3 separate regions of the Homo sapiens genome follow, and all the other regions are linked to region 1. Evidence: promoter capture Hi-C in human tissues and cell types (Jung and others, 2019). All regions are on one chromosome and are shown on one strand. The core of a region is centred on a gene start or on the middle of the fragment in contact, and the rest is flanking DNA. Distances in the headings are between cores, read along the strand shown. Region 1 holds the start of SCARF2 (scavenger receptor class F member 2). Region 2 has its middle 21 kb from the start of ZNF74. Region 3 overlaps MED15 (mediator complex subunit 15).

The links. Contacts are between HindIII fragments. The study calls those that stand out against the background at their distance.
Region 2: a fragment that was not itself captured here is called in contact with the fragment with the promoter of SCARF2 in region 1 in 2 of the 25 tissues and cell types used here (liver and lymphoblastoid cells).
Region 3: a contact is called between a fragment that was not itself captured here and the fragment with the promoter of SCARF2 in region 1, in 2 of the 25 tissues and cell types used here (lymphoblastoid cells and mesenchymal stem cells).

Annotation. Positions count from the first base shown.
Region 1 is chr22:20,436,283-20,439,957 of GRCh38, forward strand. It overlaps SCARF2 (scavenger receptor class F member 2), which reads right to left and starts at 1,543. Exons shown (of 11, transcript NM_182895.5): 1 at 1,300-1,543. The coding sequence starts at 1,472. LOC107985588 (a long non-coding RNA gene) reads left to right here and starts at 1,714. Exons shown (of 2, transcript XR_001755623.2): 1 at 1,714-2,229. The HindIII fragment of the contact is 17,878 bases long and covers 1-3,675 here.
Region 2 is chr22:20,371,199-20,374,932 of GRCh38, forward strand. It overlaps the pseudogene USP41P. Among named protein-coding and RNA genes, the nearest start is that of ZNF74, 21 kb to the right of the region's middle. RefSeq lists an enhancer at 2,102-2,271 and a cis regulatory region at 2,187. The HindIII fragment of the contact is 3,190 bases long and covers 512-3,701 here.
Region 3 is chr22:20,546,800-20,550,521 of GRCh38, forward strand. The region is part of intron 2 of MED15 (mediator complex subunit 15); the gene reads left to right. Among named protein-coding and RNA genes, the nearest start is that of MED15, 41 kb to the left of the region's middle. RefSeq lists enhancers at 525-694, 2,434-3,424. The HindIII fragment of the contact is 3,773 bases long and covers 1-3,557 here.

The DNA.
Region 1 (3,675 bases), core at 293-2,792:
GCACCGGACCCCCATTCCTGGTCCCGGGCCTGTCTGGGAAAGAGGGCTGGAGTGAGTAGACAGAGACCACGGCGATCGCGCCCTCCCCCTCTCCAGGCACCGCCCCGCCCGCCGCCGCCGCTGCATTCCTGGGGCCGGGGAGGCCCGGGAGTCCGCGGCGGCGGCATCGATGCGAAGCAGATGGCGGGCCAGGCCGGCCCCCGCCCCGGAGGCGGGGCTCGCAGCGGGGAGGGGTCTGCGCGCCTCCGGACCAGAGTTCGGAAACCCCGCGCTGCCCCCTCGCAGCCCCTTGTCTCTGGCGCCGAGCCCCTGGACTCGGCTTGCCCCGGGTCCGTGGCTCAGGCGCCCCGACGCGACCCAGCTCGGAGCCCGGCGGCCGCCTCTGCGGCTGCCAGCCCGTGCGGCGTCTCCAATCCGCGCCAAGGCGCCCCCACACGCCCGCTCCTCACCCCTGCGTGGAGATGCCCTTGACCTTGTGGCCTTTGGCCAGCCCACCGGCTCCCCCGACCCCAGCTCCTAACTCCTGGCGTCCGGGGCTCACCTCTCTGCCCTCCGTGCAAACTCCCGGACTCGCCCCCCCACCGGCCGGGCCTGTCGCCTGCCTGTCCCACACTGGCTTCCCCAGCCGGCGCCCCACATTTGCGCGGCCCCTTCTTGCACCCAGAATCCCCACCTGGTTGTCGCCAGGGTTCCCACATCCTCCGGTCCCCTGTGCCTGTCATAGTCCTTCCGCCTCCCGCTTCTGGTCCACTTCGAGCGCCGGCTCCTCGACGCTCGCCTGGGTCACCACCCTCCCACCCGCGCCCGCTCTAAGACGCGAATCTGTCTTTCCAAGTCTGGCTTGCTCCAGGACCTCCCCGGCTAGCACCGCTCCTCCTCCCCTGACCTTCCTCCTCACTCCCACTCCCGGCTCCAGTCGGACTAGTGCGGGGCTTTAGCACATGCAGTTCCTTTGGCTTGAATGCCCTTCCCCAGCTTTTCCCCGTGGACTTCACAACTCGGTCAAGGGTCCCTTTTTCCAGGTCTTTCCTGATATCCCGGACAACGCGTGTCATCCCCTGGGTGCCCACGGCACTCCATCCTCCCCTCAGGTGACTTCTCGTCCAGGGTTCCCTGGGATGCACTGTCGTGGCCCATGGCCGAGGCTGGGCCTGGAACGGAGCCGCGCTGGCTAGGGAGCCGAAGGGGCCCACACTTGGCGTAGGAAGGTTCCGGTAGCCCCCTCCCAATGCCCGGCGCCGCCACACCACTGCCCAGAGCGTCCCTCTCGCCCCCTCCCCCAGCCAGGCCGGCTCCTACCCGGGAGCACGGCACACGTTGCGGCCGCGAGGGTTCAGTTCCTGAGGCGCCACGGTGTCCGGCAGCATCCAGAGCAGCAGCAGCAGCAGCAGCGACGGCAGCAGCGGTGACGGCGGCCCCCCGGCTCCCCGGCGCCGCGCCGGCCCGGCCCCCCGGGGCCCTGCGCCCTCCATGAGGCGCGGGGCAGGCGCGGGGCGGGCACGGGCGCGGGTGCGGCCGCAGCGAGAGCGGCCGGAAGCGGAGTGCGAGGCCGGGCGGGGGGCGGCAGGAGGGGCGCCGAGCCGGGCAGGAAATTCCACATCGGCTCCCTGATCCCGGGCCAGCCGCGGCCGGCCAGGCGGCAGCGCCCGCCCCGCGCTCCAGACCCCACCCTCCGGCCTAGCCACCGCCCCTCCGCGCAGCCCCCGCCCCCATTTGGCCGCTCGCAAACTTGGGGGCGAACTTGGAGGAGGCCCGCCGAGCGCTGGTGGAGGGAGGGTCCGCCCGAGGAATCCCCGGTTCCCGCGCCTTTCCCTCCGCTCCCTAGACATCTACCGAAGCAGCCGCCCCTGCGCGCCCACTGCGTAGGCCAGGCCCGGGACGGGAAGGCGGATCGGGGACACGGACGCGACTCCGCAAGCCCACCCCCGCTCCCAGCGCCTCGGAACCGGCCAAGGGAGTGGGGCCCGCAGACAGCCCAGGTCGAGGCCGAAAGCCAACTCCACAGCACCCCACCGCGAAGTCCTTGTAGTGCTGGGGTGTGCGGTCAGCTCCCCCTGCGCACTCCTGCGCACTCAGAGCTCGCAAGGGGCGGACCGAGCAGGATGCTTGAGGCCTGTGGTAGACTCGGTCCGGACCAGAGGCCTGGGGGAAGGGGTCTCCGTAGGGACGGATGGGAGAGATACAGAGGAAGTAGAATGGCCAGGCTGTGGACTGCGGTAGGAAGTAGAGGTAAAGACAGAAGGAGACCCCCGGGATGGAAACCCTGCAGTCCTAGTTGAGGAGTGAAGGGGGCTGGGGGAGCCTGGGCGGTGGATTCTGCTGGCTGTCGGATTTCCAGGAGAGGCTGGGGCTAGAGAGTGGGAACTCCTGCATCAGGTAAGGTGGGTAACAGCACAGAGCAGAAGGAAGGTGTGGGAAGGGAGCAAGACAGAGGGACAGGCCCTAGGGAGCCAGCGGGGAAGCTGGACTTGGACTGGGAGGCAGCAGGGTGCGGGTCCCCGGGGGGCAACTGGGGCAGACCGACTCTGGAAGTTGGGCAGGGAGCACAAATGTCCCGTGTGTAGCCAGGTCCTAGTGAGGATGTTTGTCTTTTGGGGACTTGAGAGCTGGCAGAAGGCCTAAGCAGGGAGCGGGCACCTCCGTTCTTTGGGGAGCAGGCCACATGCGGCCCACAGGCTCACTGAGGGAGGGCAGGCAGACTCTGTCCAGGTGTGGCCAGATAGCCCCGAAGGGTGGGGCTGGAGGAGGGGGCTTGGAGGAGGAGCCACTGAAAGGCCCAAGGCCATGGGCATCACCAGGCTGGCACAGGCAGAGAGTGGGATGGGGAGGAGCAGGCCCCTCACTCAGCCATGCTGGTGCAGGAGGGAGGTGGGGTGGGCTGAAAGAGAAGTGGAACTAGTGTGGACACGAATGCAACTACCTGGGGACAAATAAACAGGCCAACCACTTCTGGGCAGCTCAGCCTGGGCACAGCCCTGACCTCAGCAATGCCCTCCCAGTGCTGGGGCCCCTCCCACGGAGGATCCGGATTGCGGCTCCCAATAGAGGCCAGCAGAGGTCCCAGTGGCTGCAAGGTCTGTCCCAGCCCAGCTCCTGGCTTTAGAGGCACTGACCCCCTGGGCTGGAGGGGACACTCACCTCAGCTGGATGGAGGTCATGAATAGGCATATCAAATTCCATCACCTTTCTCCTTCCCCCAGACCTGTCCAGGGAGGGCACCACCTGGATGGTGCCCCCCAATCCCCCAGGACCTCCTAAATGTCTTAGATCTCTGCCCACCCCTGTCTGCCACCCAGAGTAGTCTTTTTAATCTCACATGTGGCTATCCACCACTGCTCTCAGGATGAGGACCATCCCCAGTCTCACCTCACGACCCGGTACATACATCCCTTGCAGTAGATGGCAACTTTGGGTGTCATGGGCAGAGCCCTCATTTCTCCCAACCACCACTGCACCCCTAGGGGAAGACTGAGAAGTATGGGAGGAATGAAGGATCATCCACATGGCACTAGGATGTAGAAGGAACCCACAGACAATTGACCACCACGCAGGCAAACTGCTGGAGCCCGGAGCCCTGGCCTGCTGGTTTTGGCCAGGATGGCTGCCAGAAGGAAGTGGACTTTGAAGGCTGAGGAGGGTTTTGCATGAAAGCAGGGACCAAGAGCCTAGCCACAC
Region 2 (3,734 bases), core at 857-3,356, 65 kb before region 1:
AGGAGAACCATAACTGAAATGAAAAATGTACTAGAGGAGGTCAATAGCAGATTAGAGCTGGCAAAAGAAAGAATCCATAAACCTGGAGCTAGGTTGGTTGAGGTTCTCCAGACTGAGGACGGAAGGAAAGCTGAACACAGTACCTATGCAGCGAAAAGCTGAGGAGCTGCTCACTGCGTGTAGAGCTCAACTAACTCTGATACAAAAAAAAATGTGATACAAAAGGTTTTATACACAAACGTGAACTTATTCTGAAGCCAGCCTGGGGCAAGGAGCAAGACACATCCTGCCTTTTAATGTGCCATTTCTCCTTTGGAGGAGAGAGGGGCATTTTCATAAGGTGTGTTGTGGGGGTGGGGGGAGTGAGCAATGGCGGTTTTCTACCGGGCAGTTATCAAGTTCCCAGCAGCTGAGTTGGCGCCTTTCCGGGCAGAAAAGTGGCCGAGTGGGCATGCTTTCTCCATGCCTTCCTAGTGGGTGAAAGACAAACCCCTAGAGGGTGGAAGTTTCGAAGCCACCCCCTGGCAGGGAGAGTTCCCTGGTGGGTATGCTTTGGGCTGCAAATCTACTGCCAAGTCTCAGGAAAGATCAGCTGGAAGATCTTGCCCTGTTCTCAATCAAACCTCCATCAGCCTACCTCCATTTACAGATTCTTCCTTTTGCCCAGCAGGGAATGTCTGGAGAGGGGTAGGCGAAAGGTGATATTTGCATTTCTAAAGGGCTAACAGGAAACAGGAAACACGGCCGCGGTGAGGGGTGAGGGATGGGAAGAGGAGAAGTGAAAAGAAAGTAATAAGAAAACTAATATAACTATCTCTTAGAAAATGGGAGTACTCAGTTACACCCAGATGGGTTCACTAGTGAACGATGGGTTCTACCAAACATTTATGGGAAAAATTATACCAATTCCCTACAACCTCTTCCAGAGGACAAAAGCAGAGAGAACACTTCCTAACTCATTCTCTGAGGCCAGCATTATCCTAACACCAAAACCAGACAGACATTGTAAGAAAAAAACCTAAAAACCAGTATCTCCCGTGAACATAAATGCAAAATTCCTCAACAAAATATTAGTGAATCAAATTCAACTATGTATAAAAAGAATCACAGAGGGTGACACAAGCGAGATGGTAGAGAAGGAGGCTCCTGGTGCTCCCCTTCTCCCATGGACACACGGTAAAACTCTCATCTACACACAGATCAACTCCCTCTGAAAGAAACCCAGAAACCAGCTGAGAGAGGCCTGCACAGGGGGCAATGGGGAGAACACCCACATCGCAACCGGTTGGAAAAGCTGAGACACACTCGAACCACAAGCCCCACCCCAGACACAGTACCTTACTGTGAGGAAGGAATCCCTACTCCCAGCTTTCTCCTGGAGAGGGGAGGGTTTGGACCACACATAGGCAGCCCCAGCTTTTGCAGTTCCCACTCAAGGGCTTGGCTGCTGGGTCACCTAGCTCTGGGAGCAGACATGGGTTAGCAGTTATGAATCCTCTGCGACCACAGAGGACAAAGAGGCAGTTTTAAACGGGCACGTGAGCACTTCCAGCAGCTGTGCTCAGCACAGAGCAAACAGGCAGAAATGCCAGGCTCCCAGTTCCTCCCTGGAAGGATATGTCTGCGGGCTCTCCTAGCTGTTGCCCGAGGGATGGGCTTCTATTAATAACTGGCCTGCACCTGGAGCCAATGAGGCAGGTAAACAATAGATTTCCAGGAGTCTGGACAGGCCTGTGGGCAAGTCCCATGCCTTCTCCCACCCCCTGCTGTATGGTAAAATCAGGTCTCTAACTTCACACATTGAGTACACATTTACCCCTCTCAAATGAAGGTCTAGCTCCTCAACCACCGAGCTTTGGGAGCTGACAAGGCTCTGTATTTGTAAGTCCCACAGGGGCACAGAGACCAAAGAACATCCCCCCAGGCCCAGTGCAGCGTGAACAGGCAAAAAGGCCCGGCTCCTACTTTCTCCCTAGAAGGAGTTTGTCTGCACAGTGCAGCTGCTGCCCTGGGGTTTCTATGCATCTGGGAGCTGACAGAGCAGGAAACCAGTGCTCCTCTGAGACCCTGAACAGGCAGGTGAGCACCTCCACAGCTGCTCCCACTGGTTTGCTCAACAGATAGCGTCAAGCTTCCAACTAACCTGTCCGTCTCTAAGCAGAGAACAGCCAGCATTTGCTAGGCCCCTGGGGGTGACAAAGAGTAAAACAATGCATGAAGGAGTGTGCAGTTTAAACTTGAGTGCAGGCACTTGCCACAGATCCTCTCTCCAGCATTTTGCAGAGCGAGTGGCAGATAAACTCATGCTCCCAGCTTTTCCCTGAGGATAGAATAAACTGGAACACACATTTAATGCCCCAACGTCTCCAGCTGCACCTCAAGGGGCTGGTTTCTATCTCCCCTGTCTGGGGCACTGACAGGACATGACACATTCTAATCTCCTGAGGGCCGCTAAGAACATAGATGACAGTTTGGACAACACAAAAGGTCAAGAGGTGCTCCGAGTGTCTGGCAGGGCTAATTGGTAAGTTCGTCTCTTATACAAGGCCCGTGGGACAAGACTGGGAGAGGTATTTTTCTTTTTTTTTTTTGAGACGGAGTCTCGCTCTGTGGCCCAGGCTGGAGTGCAGTGGTTCGATCTCGGCTCACTGCAAACTCCACCTCCCAGGTTCACGCCATTCTCCTGCCTCAGCCTCCCAAGTAGCTGGGACTACAGGCACCCGCCACCACGCCCAGCTAATTTTTTGTATTTTTAGTAGAGACAGGGTTTCACCGTGTTAGCCAGGATGGTCTCCATCTCCTGACCTCATGATCTACCCGCCTCAGCCTCCCAAAGTGCTGGGATTACAGGTGTGAGCCATGATGCCCAGCCTGGGAGAGGTATTTTTCTTAACTAAAGTACAGAAAATAACAGAGAATCAAGAACAATGAAGAAACAGAGAAATCTGTTCCAAGCAAAAGAACAAGATAAATCTCCAGAAAATGCCCCCGGTGAAATGAAGATAAGTGACTTACCTTACAGACAATTCAAAATAATGATCATGAAGATGCTTACCATGTCTAGGACAGCAATGCATGAACAAAGTAAGAATTTCAGCAAAGAGACAGAAAAAAGTTCAAAAGAAATAATAGAGCTGAAGAATACAATAACTGAAATAAGAGCTCAAAAGAGAAGCTCAACAGACTAAATCAAGCAGAAGAAAGGATTAGCAAACTAGAAGATAGGTCACTGGAAATCATTCAGAGGAGCAAAAATGAAAAAGAATGAAAAAGAGTGAAGATATCTTAAGAGAGTTAGGGGACATCAAGCCGACCAAAATAGGCATTATCAGAGTCCCAGAAGGAGGAGAGTGAGAAGAGATGGAAAGCTTATCCAAAGAAATAACAGTCACGAGTTGCAGATCAACATTTCAGTCAATGGCAGACCGCATGAGCACAGTGGCCATAGCATGCAGCCTAGCTGTGTAGTAGGCTGTCCCATCTAAGTTTGTGTAAGTGCACTCCATGATGTCCACACAATGACAAATTCACCTTCTGATGCATTTTCAGAACGTATCCCTGTTGGTAAGCAACGCATACCTATAATGACTGAAAACTTCCCAACCCAGGGAAGGAAATACAAATCCACATCCAGGAAGCCCAAAGGACACCAATAAGACTGATCTAAAGCAACCCACATCAAGACACATCATAATCAATTTCAAAAGTTAAAGACAAAGAATTCTGAAAGCAGC
Region 3 (3,722 bases), core at 421-2,920, 110 kb after region 1:
GTTTTTCTTAGTCTGCTGGCATTTAGACCCAGATTGGCTGCTCCTCTAGGGAGTGAACCCTGGGGACTTCTGCCGGTAAAGTGGCATTTGGAGCATGCTACGTGGGCGCTGGTCTGTTCATTGCTTTGGGCCTTTCAGTGAACAGAACTAAGAAAAAACATGTTTTTGAAATAACAGCAACAACAAAAACCCATAATTTTACACTAATATTTCTAATTCAAATTTAAACTTATATATAGGGTTTTTACTTCTTTCATTTTAAACATGTGTCTTTTCTGTTACTATGAATATCTTGGTTTCTAATATTATTAGCATACTTGGTTGCTTTACTTTAAAATCATTTCAGAATAAACAGTTTATATTACCACTGATAACAAAAGGTAGACTAAACATTTAAGATTACCTTGAAGTTCTAATTGTCCTTAAAATGTATCCCTTTTATTGAGAACATTTTGCTTTTTGTTTCATTTTTTTAAAAAGCCTCTCAAAAGATTTCTTTTCTCTATATGATTCTGCCACCAACTTAATATTCAGCTCATTTGTTTTAGTTTATTTGGAATGTTTAGGAATTGGACCTTTTTCTTTAGATTTGCTATACTTTTCATTTTAGAAAAATATTTTAGGCTGGCTACAGTGACTCACACCTGTAATCCCAACACTTTTGGAGGTTGGGGACTGAGCAAAAGACAAGCCGGCCAACATGGCAAAACCGTGTCTCTCCAAAAAATACAAAAAATTGGCCAGGCGTGGTGGCTCACGCTTGTAATGTCAGCACTTTGGGAGGCTGAGGTGGGCGGATCAGAAGGTCAGGAGATCGAGACCATCCTGGCTAACACAGTGAAACCCCGTCTCCACTAAAAAATACAAAAAATTAGCCAGACGTGGTGGCAGGCGCCTGTAGTGCCAGCTACTTGGGAGGCTGAGGCAGGAGAATAGCTTGCACCACCCGGGAGGCGGAGCTTGCAGTGAACTGAGATTGCACCACTGCACTCCAGCTTGGGCCACAGAGTGAGACTCCATCTAAAAAATAAAAATAAATAAATAAATAAATTAGCTGGACATGGTACTGCATGCATGTAGTCCCAGCTGCTCAGGAGGCTGAGGTGGGGAGGCTCACTTGAGCCCAGGAAGTTGAAACTGCAGTGAGCGATGATCGCGTCACTGCACTCCAGCCAGGGCGACAGAGTGAGACCCCATCTCAAAAAATATATATATTTTTTAGAGAAATAAAATTCACTGAGTTGCCCCTGAGTTGCCCAGGCTGAACTCCTGGGTGTAAGCAATACTCCTACTTTATCCTTCCAAGTAGCTGGGATTACAAGACTGTGCCACTGTGCCTAGCTTTGATTTGTTTTTTTTGTTTTTTGTTTTTTGTTTTGAGACAGAGTTTTCACTCTTGTTGCCCAGGCTGGAGTGCAGTGGCGTGATCGCGGCTCACTGCAACCTCTGCCTCCTGGGTTCAAGCAATTCTCCTGCCTCAGCCTCCCAAGTAGCTGGGATTACCGGCATGCGCCACCAGGCCTGGCTAATTTTTTTTGTATTTTTAGTAGAGATGGAGTTTCACCATGTTGGCCAGGCTGGTCTTGAATTCCTGTCCTCAGGTGATCCTCCTGTCTTGGCCTCCCAAAGTGCTGGGATTACAGGTGTGAGCCAAGGTGCCCGACTTGATTTGGCTTTATCTTCTCAATAGTAAAAGATTTATGTGCTTCTGAAGTGAAAACCCATAACACTGTGGATTTAGAGAGGGCACATTTCCAGCCCAGTTCCTGATACTTGCTGGGTTGTCGATTTTCAATTTTGGTGTATCTTTCCAGTGTTTCTCATGGCAGATTTAAGCAAATATGTGTGTTTACGTTCCACAGGTCTTATATAAAAGGTGTATGTCATGCAGTGTATGTGGCACGGAGCACGTGTTTCTATCCTTTCTCCTTCCTTGTGTTCACTCCACAATATGTTGTGAGGCACTTGTGCAAGATTTCCACATGTCAAGCAAGTGTGGAAATTCTATGAAGCTTTTAACTTTTTGAGGTGGGGTCTCACTCTGTCGCCCAAGCTGGAGTGCAGTGGAGTGGTCACAGCTCATTGCAGCATTGATCTCCCAGGCTCAAGCCTCAGCCTCCCACTTTGAGGCCACTGGCGTGTGCTACCACACCAGGGTAATGTTTGTTTGTTTGTTTGTTTTGTAGAGATGGTGTCTTACTATGTTGCCCAGGCTGGTCTTAAACTCCTGGCCTCAAGGGACCCTCCTGCCTTGGCTTCCCAAAATGTTGGAATAATAGATGTGAGCCTCCACGATTGGCCTCTATGGAGTTTTTTAAGGTTTCTGTTTTCTTATCTGTAAACTGGATGTGTTAGTAGTACCTGCCTCTGGGTGGTTGGGAGAAATCAAGGCGATAATGCATGTGAATTGATGACTCCTGTGTCTGGCACTGTAAAGTGCCAAGTGCTAGCTGTTACTGTCATGATGTTCATTGTTTATGGTTTGTAATACTCAGCCTCAGGTACAGCTGGACACTTATATTTTGATAGCCAGCAGGGGAGCTGGAGCAGACCAAGTGAAGATAGGGAGTTTCCTGACTCTTTAGCCCTTTTTTCTGCAGCAGTTCTAGGGGAGTTGGTGTGCTTTGGAGCAGAAAGGGGCATAATAATCTGTCCATCTGGATGGGGGTGGGGGTGGATGGTGAGGAGTCAGGAGTGAAAGAGCCCAGCCAGGGGGATCAGAGGCGCAGTTTCAGATCCAGGGCTTTCTCCCCTGGAAAGGAGTTGTTGTGGTTGACCCATTGCGTTCAGCCCCTAGATGTTCCTAGATAAACCTGCCTTTGGGGGAATGTAGGAAGTATCATCGCCCACAAGAAAGCTCCTTGGCTGGCAGCATGACAGCTTCCTGTGCTTGTTTCTCACATCAGGCGTCCCCTCCCTCCCCGCTCCCCACTAAGCCTCCTCACGCTGGTCTGGTAGCAGAGCTGGAGCAGATGGCAGTGGCTGCGCCTACTGTGGGTCAGGAGTGGTGCTGGGCACTGCAGGATGATGATGCCTGCCCACTGCATTCCAGGTGCTGGGCTGGCAGTGGGTCTTGCTCAGCCCTGGTGTTATGCAGAAGGGCTTTGGTGACATGGTCCTGAGCCTTGTTTGAGTGTCTTATGTCTAAGTAAAAGTATCTTGTTGCTTTTGAAACCTACTTCCCCTTGTTTTACCTTTTATGGATGTGGAGAAAACAAATTCATTTAAAGTATCGCAGACCTAAAAAATGGTCCAGGGCCTTAGGAGCTGTGAGGTGTTGACCTGGCTGGCCCCCAGGCCCTTCTCCCCTCATACATGGCCACCTTGCTTCTGTTCCTGAGTGTCCTCAGGTTCCCACACCTCCATTGCCCCCATTCTCATACCACTGTCCTTCAGGGACAGGCTGCCTGTGGGCCCCCTTCACACGCACATCAGCTTTCCTATCAGTAATTGATGGGGATAGCCGGAAGCTGGGCGTGTTGACAGAACTGCCTTGGTGTCCCCTTGTTCTGGCCAGGCCTCGCTGCTTATCCCAGCTTTTCCTCTCCCCTGGGCCTTTCTTCTTCATGTTGTCCTGTGCTAATTCCCCGAGCTGAAAAAAAGAAGTGGGGTAGAGTTTGGAGATAGATGTGGGATGATAAAGATTTCAAAAGTGTCTTTGTATTTTTACACTCATCTGAGACCACTTTTCATCATCCTTCCCTCTGCCCTGCCATCTTATG